Linked DNA regions of Homo sapiens: region 1 is linked to region 2. The links are contacts of gene promoters, found by promoter capture Hi-C in human tissues and cell types (Jung and others, 2019). All regions are on one chromosome and are shown on one strand. Each heading gives the region's core, a stretch centred on a gene start or on the middle of the fragment in contact. The rest is flanking DNA. Distances are from core to core; before and after follow the strand shown. Region 1 holds the start of NME1 (NME/NM23 nucleoside diphosphate kinase 1). Region 2 holds the start of EPN3 (epsin 3).

Region 1 (3,657 bases), core at 212-2,711, 620 kb before region 2:
AATCTGCCCACCTCAGCCTCCCAAAGTGCTGGGATTAAAGGCGTGAGCCCCATGAGCCTGGCCACCATTTGATTTAATAAGCTTCTTTTAAACATCTACTGTGTACCAAACACTGCGGTGGAACTAGGATACAGGATGTTAAAAACAAGGCACTATCTTTCTCAATAATCAAGCTTGGGAGAAACTACACTGATGAAAAGTTTTACTAATGTGAAAGTGATGTCCGGTACAAAGCAGTAAGAAATAATAGTTTGACTTAATGCCACAGCCATAGCATTAGGGGTTTTAGAGAATATATCTTTACAACCCCCTTCATTTTACAAATGAGGAAACAGGACCACAGCACCAGAATGAAGGCCAAAACCCAGCATTCCCAACCCATTAATCCATTCTTGTAATGTTATGCTACACTTTACAATGCAAAGAATATTTTGACTAGCCAATAAACGGTGGGGTGTGGGAGAACTACAGACATTAGGAATATCTGATACGGGACATCATACTGAAAGGAAGCCTAGAGAGTAACTATTCCGTCCAGATCCCTCATTTTACAGAAGACTGCGCTCATGACCTACCCTGTATCACAGCTTGAGATAGGAGGCCCCTCGCCTTGAAAGACGATCCCTAAAGTAGACAGTAGCACCATCTCTTGGCCCCATCTTCCTGTCCTTTAGTTAACCTCTTCTTACAGCATCTTAGCACTGTAGTCCAATTTTCTGTTTGTGTGTCTGCCTCCCCTGCACACCAGGCTGACTTAGTCCTGTGTAGAGACTCTATGGTACCTAGCCACAGGGCCTAGCAGTCAATAGGAGCAAAGAAAATCATTTATCACCATTCTGCAACTTCCAAAAAAAAAAAAAGAGAGAGAGACAAAGCCCAAAGACTGCGGAGAATCGCACGATGGGGTGCGGGGCAAGCATAAATTGTCCAGGAGAAAACAGGACTAAAGCGCCAGAAATACACCCTAAAAATGTCCCTCCACATCGGTCCCGGTGACACAACAGTAAGCACTCAGTGCTTGCTGAATGAATGACACACACACCCGTCATTTATTCAGCAAGCACTTACAGAGCGCCAACTCCGTGCCCGGCACTGCTCTCGACAGACACAAATAAGGCACAGCCCTGTCGTCGCGGCCTGACGAGAAAGGCGGCCACCGACAAAGGCGAGTCCACGTGGCGTGGGACGTGCGCCGACCGGTCTGCACTTGTCCACAGGCGCTCCCTGCCCCTCCTCCCATCCGATCCTCCTCGCCGCCTCTTAGAGCTGAACTCATCTCTTCACTAACTCCTCACCTAACCCACTCCCGCGACTACACTCCTTTCTTTTTCCTCTCAGGATCCCGAACACCTCTTACCCTTCCAGCTGCTTAGGTTTGAACTCCGGCTGCAGCCGCCAGCACCCGAAACGCGCCCGGGACCCACGTGGTTCGCAGCACTTGCACGCACGGAACGCTTCTGCGCAGATCCGCTGCCGGAGAGCCCATTTTGCAGAACACCGCTCGCCCACGCTTCCTCTTGGGAGTAGGCAGTCATTCTAGGGAACAACTTTCTGCAGTTTAACTTCCGGCGCTAGCTTTTTCAGACCTTTCCGGTTAGCTGCTTGCTTTCTTCTCTCCACCCCCGGGTTCTCTGACTCACTTCCTTCGTTCGCGAGCAAATTGGCTTCCCGAGAGGTGGCGCTCACACGTTGCGTGAAGTCCAAAGAGTGCCTGACCTAGAAGTAGACTTTTCGCTCCCGCTTTGTGTTTATTCACCTTTTCTAGCCTGTCAAGCAAAAAATTTTGAGTACCTACTACGTGGACGCATTATTCTAGGCCCTAGGGATAAAACAGTATGCTCTCTTGGAGCTTCTGGGAGGGATGGGAGTATAGGAAAACAAGAAGCAAATAAGCAAATTAATATGTAATAGATCGCATTTTGTAAGTGCTGTGAAGAAAAGGCCAGAGAAATCTCTGAGTAAGTGATAATAGAATAGACCTGCATGAAGTGAGGGAGCCAGCCCAGTGATTCTTCGAGAGCCAAGTATTACGGTGGACATCGAGTGGTGGAAAATGCCGTTAGAATAGAGCCAAATCTTATGTTGTGAGATGCTAATACAGATTTTGCACAAGGCATGACATCATCACTAACAAAAAAACATTCCCACTGCTCTAAGGGGAAATGAACGGGGGAAAGGTACAAAAATGGAATCAGGAGCCGTTTCAACAAATGATGCTGGAGCAATTGGACGAATATAGACCCAAAGAACCTCAACCTAAACCTCTCACCTTATACAAAATTTACTCAAAATGAATCATAGATTTAAATGTAAAACAATAAATCACTTATGGGGAAAAAAAAAGTTAAAAAAAATCCTCAGGACCTAGGGCCAGGCAAATAGTTTTTAGACGACACCAAAAGACCAATCTATACAGGGAAAAAGTTGATAAATTGGAACTTACTGAAATTTAAAACTTTTGGCCGAGCGCGGTGGCTCACGCCTGTAATCCCAGCACGCTGGAAAGCAGCGGCGGGAGGATCACTTGAGCTCAGGAATTCGAGACCAGCCCGGGCAACATAGTGAAACCCCGTCTCTACTAAACATACAAAAATGAGCCGGGCGTGGTTGCAGGCGCCTGTAGTCCCAGCTACTCGGGAGGCTGAGGCAGGAGAATCGCTTGAACCCGGGAGGCAGAGGTTGCAGTGAGCCGAGATTGCGCCAGGGCACTCCAGCCTGGGTGACAGAGCGAGACTCGGTCTCAAAAAAATAAAAAATAAATAAAATAAATAAGTAAAATTTCATTATTCTCCTGTTTTCTTTTTTTTCTTTTTGAGACCGAGTATCGCTTTGGCGCCCAGGCCGGAGCGCAGTTGCACGATGTCGGTTCATTGCAAACTCCGCCATCCGGGTTCAAGCGATTCTCGTGACTCAGCTTCCCGCGTAGCTGGGACTACAGGCGTCTGCCACCACGCCCGGTATTTTCTTTTTCTTTTTTTTTTTTTTTTTTTGAGACGGAGCCTTGCCAGGTCGCCCAGGGTGGAGTGCAGTGGTGCGATCTCGGCTCACTGCAACCTCCGCCTCCCGGGTTCAAGCGAATCTCCTGCCCCAGCCTCCCGAGCAGCTGGGATTACAGGTGCCCACCACCACACCCGGCTACTTTTTGTATTTTTAGGAGAGACGGGGTTTCACCATGTTGGCCAGGTTGGTCTCAAACTCTTGACCTCGTGATCCGCCCGCCTCAGCCTCCCAAAGTGCTGAGATTACAGGCATGAGCCACCGCGCCTGGCCCTAATTTTTGTATTTTTAGTAGAGACGGGTTTTCACTATGCTGGCCAGGCTGGTATCGAACTCCTGACCTCAAGTGTTCCATCTGCCTCGGCCTACCAAAGTGCAGGGATTACAGGCATGAGCCACCGTGCTCGGCCTTTATTTATTTATTTGTTTATTTATTTATTGAGATGCAGTCTTGCTCTGTCACCCAGGCTGGAGTGCCTTGGCGGATCTCAGCTCACTGCAACCTCTGCCTCCCACGTTCAAGTGATTCTCCTGCCTCAGCCTCCCGAGTAGCTGGGACTACAGGCGTGCACCACCACGCCCGGCTAATTTTTGTATTTTTAGTAGAGACGGGGTTTCACCATGTTGGCCAGGCTGGTCTCAAACTCCTGACCTCAGGTG
Region 2 (3,235 bases), core at 334-2,833:
CAGCGGCCCTGCCTGGACCTTTCTCACAGAAGGTGGGCATTCTCTGCACACCCCTGCAGGGGCTGGGGGGAAGGGCGGGGCCAGAAACATGGGGAGGCACCTTGATTTTCCTTCTCTGGAGTTTGAGGGGACAAGGTGAGGCTGCCCAAGCACAGAGAAGGGAGGAGGAAAGGAAGAAGCCTGCCCAAGCGCAGAGAAGGGAGGAGGAAAGGAAGAAGCCTGCCCAAGCGCAGAGAAGGGAGGAGGAAAGGAAGGAACGCGGGAACGCGGGAGGGAGCAGCTGGGAGCGCTGCCAGCAGTGTTACAAGCAAAGGGTTTTATCGAACACGATATGCCCAGAAATAAAAGGGAGTGTAACAGAAACCCAGCGGCCGATAAGGCGGTGGCGGTAGCAGCAGCAGCCCTGGGCAGCTGGGTATGGAATTACTGCAGTGACCTTGAGCCAGACCCTGTCAGGTGGAGGGAAGGGCACAGAGAGGGCAGGGCCTGAGAATTCAGAGATGACGAGAGGGCAGAGGAGGGAGGAAGCTGAGGGGATGGGAGCAGGGCCAGCAGGCGGTGGGATGGGCCACGGGGCACGGAGTATCAGCTCTCTCCTGCATACAGGGTCCCAAGGAGAACTGCGCAGTAGGGAGGGGCTGCTCTTCTCAGGGCCTGCAGGATGGGGGGATCTGGAGAGTTTCCCAAAAGTCAGGACCGAAAAATGCAGATCGCTCATCCCCAGCAAGGGTTTCGGAGAGATGGAGAGAACCCAGATCTGTCCAGTCACACGTGCATGAGTTTGCGTAAAGTCTGTGCACCCACCAGCCCAGCCCACACCCTCTTCCCGTCCTCTGCTAAGGTGGGCTCCAGCCCCTGCCTCCAAGTCAGATCCAGCCTGAGCAGTGGGGAATGACAGTGCCCTTCTTGATGCTGTAAGGGACAGGGGGTGAGCTTGAACTCTAAGCTTCTGGCCACTGTAATAGCTGCATCCCGGGAGCACAGAAGATGGGGGAGGGGGGACTGCCCTGAGGCTAGAGGTGTGCATGAGGGGCTGAAGAAGAGGAAACAGCAGAGATGTGCAGAAGGAGTCTGTGGGGAATGCCACCAAAGATGCTAAGATGCCACCAAAGATGCTAAGTCCCAGGATGGTTGGGGAGGGGGCCCTGAGTCCCTTTTTGGGGGCGGCAGGGAGGGAGGGGTGGCAGGAAAGAAGCCTTTAGGTCCTCTACAGCTCAGCCTTCTCCCTCGCACCTGGAAAAGAGACTAAGCCCCAGAACCACTGTTTGCTCCCCACCAACCCCCGCCTTCCATGCCGCCACTGCCAGGGAGGGGGCCAGGGAGGAAGCTTACCTCCAGTGCGGGCTCCCTCGGCCCCAGCCCCAGCCCGAGTAGCCTCTGCGGTGACCCTCCGACCTGTGCAGCAGCGGGACGGCACAGCCTCGGGAGCGTCTCCAGAGCCATCCACCATGGACCCTCGTCCCAGAGACCCACCTGCTCCCAGGAGGTGCAGACCCCTCAGAGGGGCAGCGGCAGGGTCCCTGGAATGGGTAGCAGCTCTTCCCGCGTGCGTTTGCCTCCTAGCCAGCGCCAGGCAGCACTCCGAGGAAAGTTGCTCAGCTGGCCCGGCAGGTCTGCCTCAGCAGTAACAGGACACAGGAGGAAGTGCAGGGCAGGTTAACCCCTTCCTGCTGGCCAGGCAAGTGGTGCATTGAGAGGTGGGGGGCCTGCCTGTTGGCCGCCCCCAGGAAGTGCACATCTGGAGCCAGTGCTGGCGACCTGATCCCCTCTGCTTTGAGTTAACCCTTCCCCTGCCTCTTCAACAGGAAAGGAGGGGGGCTCCAACACCCCCACCACACCCCTCCCCTTCCTCCTCTGGGCCGGGAGGACATTAAAGGAGAGGGCAGGGACATTCCCTGGGGCTGGCTCTTTGGTGGAGCCCCCGTCTTCTCGTCTTCTTGGGGAGGAGAGCATCAGGACTCCAGCACAGCCCCCTCCCTGCCTTTCCCACACGGAGTCAGATCCTTCTGTCCATCCTCCCCCTCCTGCATCTCAGCTGGAGGATGCCTGAGGCCCACTTAAGGATGCCCACCCACCCAAAAACCAAAGTTGTTCTTCAAACTCTGGGAGCCTGGAGTGCTCTTCACACAGGGAGCCCAGCCCCAAATGGTTATGACTGACAGAAGACAATGAGGGGCCTGAGTTTGAGCTGACAATACCTTTTTTTCTGAGAGCCATTTCTAGCCTGTTTCATGTTCCCCTGAGCAAGGGAGGTAGCATGAAGATCAGCAGCTGTTTTTAAGGCAGAAAGATGGCTCAAGGCCAGATAGTTTGAGATGAGGAGGGGGATAAGGCAGACTAGACCCCGAAATAACAAGGTGATGTGGCCTCTAGAGCTGAAGAGGTGTGGTGAGCATGATCTTCAGGGACTGAATTGGGGCCCTGGGACCCAGCTGAAGAGGGGAGATGGCAGGGAGCCAGGTCCCATGGGTCTAGTTCTACTCCTCATCTCACACTTTGTCATACTTGGTGATGACACTTCGGGAAGACCTGGCTCCAGGAAGCACGACCCTGAAAGTGTGGGCCAAGGAAGCCAGAGGCAGGGACTACCAGAGGTGACACACTGTCCTGTCACCTGACTCCTTGTCTTGCTACCAATCTGCTCCTCTGCTTGGCATCCCACACATCACTTCCCCAGCTATGTCTGTCTGTCCTCCTGCAGGAGGGCTCTGGCAGCTGGCAGGAGGGGATCTGAGGGCAGGTGGAACATGGGAGGACCTGGATCAGGAGCTGACCTAGCCAAGATCCATCATGCAAGACACAGAGGCACACGGAAGTAGTAGAAACTTGAAGGTTCTTTATTGATTTATTTATTAACCCGTTTTCCAGAAGGTTGCTTGGGCCCGAGAGTCACCTGCAGAGGCGCAAAGCCTCCTCGACATTCTTTATGGGGCTGAGCTCATCAGCCAGGACCATCAGGTCAGTCACCAGGGTGTCCAGCAGCCCACGGACCTGGAAGAACGGGACAACATCACAGGCAGAGTTTACTCTGTGGGAAGCACCTATATATGAACTATGCTGTGAGAGAATAGCTGGAGAGGGGAAAGAAACCAGTTGTTTGTGAAAGAATTTCACAAGTTCAAAGTTCTTGTGAAATAATTTTTGGTTTTGCAGATTTTTTTTTTTTTTGACAGGATCTCACTCTGTCACCCAGGCTGGAGTCCAGTGGTGTGATCATGGCTCACTGCAGCCTTGA

What was found. Contacts are between HindIII fragments. The study calls those that stand out against the background at their distance.
Region 1: the fragment with the promoter of NME1 here is called in contact with the fragment with the promoter of EPN3 in region 2 in 1 of the 25 tissues and cell types used here (heart right ventricle).

What each region holds. Positions count from the first base shown.
Region 1 is chr17:51,151,363-51,155,019 of GRCh38, reverse strand. It overlaps NME1 (NME/NM23 nucleoside diphosphate kinase 1), which reads right to left and starts at 1,461. Exons shown (of 5, transcript NM_000269.3): 1 at 1,358-1,461. It overlaps NME1-NME2 (NME1-NME2 readthrough), which reads right to left and starts at 1,461. Exons shown (of 9, transcript NR_037149.2): 1 at 1,358-1,461; 2 at 576-795. RefSeq lists enhancers at 1,191-1,610, 1,394-1,925, 949-2,148. The HindIII fragment of the contact is 32,954 bases long and covers 1-3,657 here.
Region 2 is chr17:50,531,083-50,534,317 of GRCh38, reverse strand. It overlaps EPN3 (epsin 3), which reads right to left and starts at 1,583. Exons shown (of 10, transcript NM_017957.3): 1 at 1,333-1,583. MYCBPAP (MYCBP associated protein) reads right to left here. Exons shown (of 19, transcript NM_032133.6): 19 at 2,817-2,991. The coding sequence ends at 2,890. RefSeq lists enhancers at 1-40, 41-717. The HindIII fragment of the contact is 9,890 bases long and covers 1,138-3,235 here.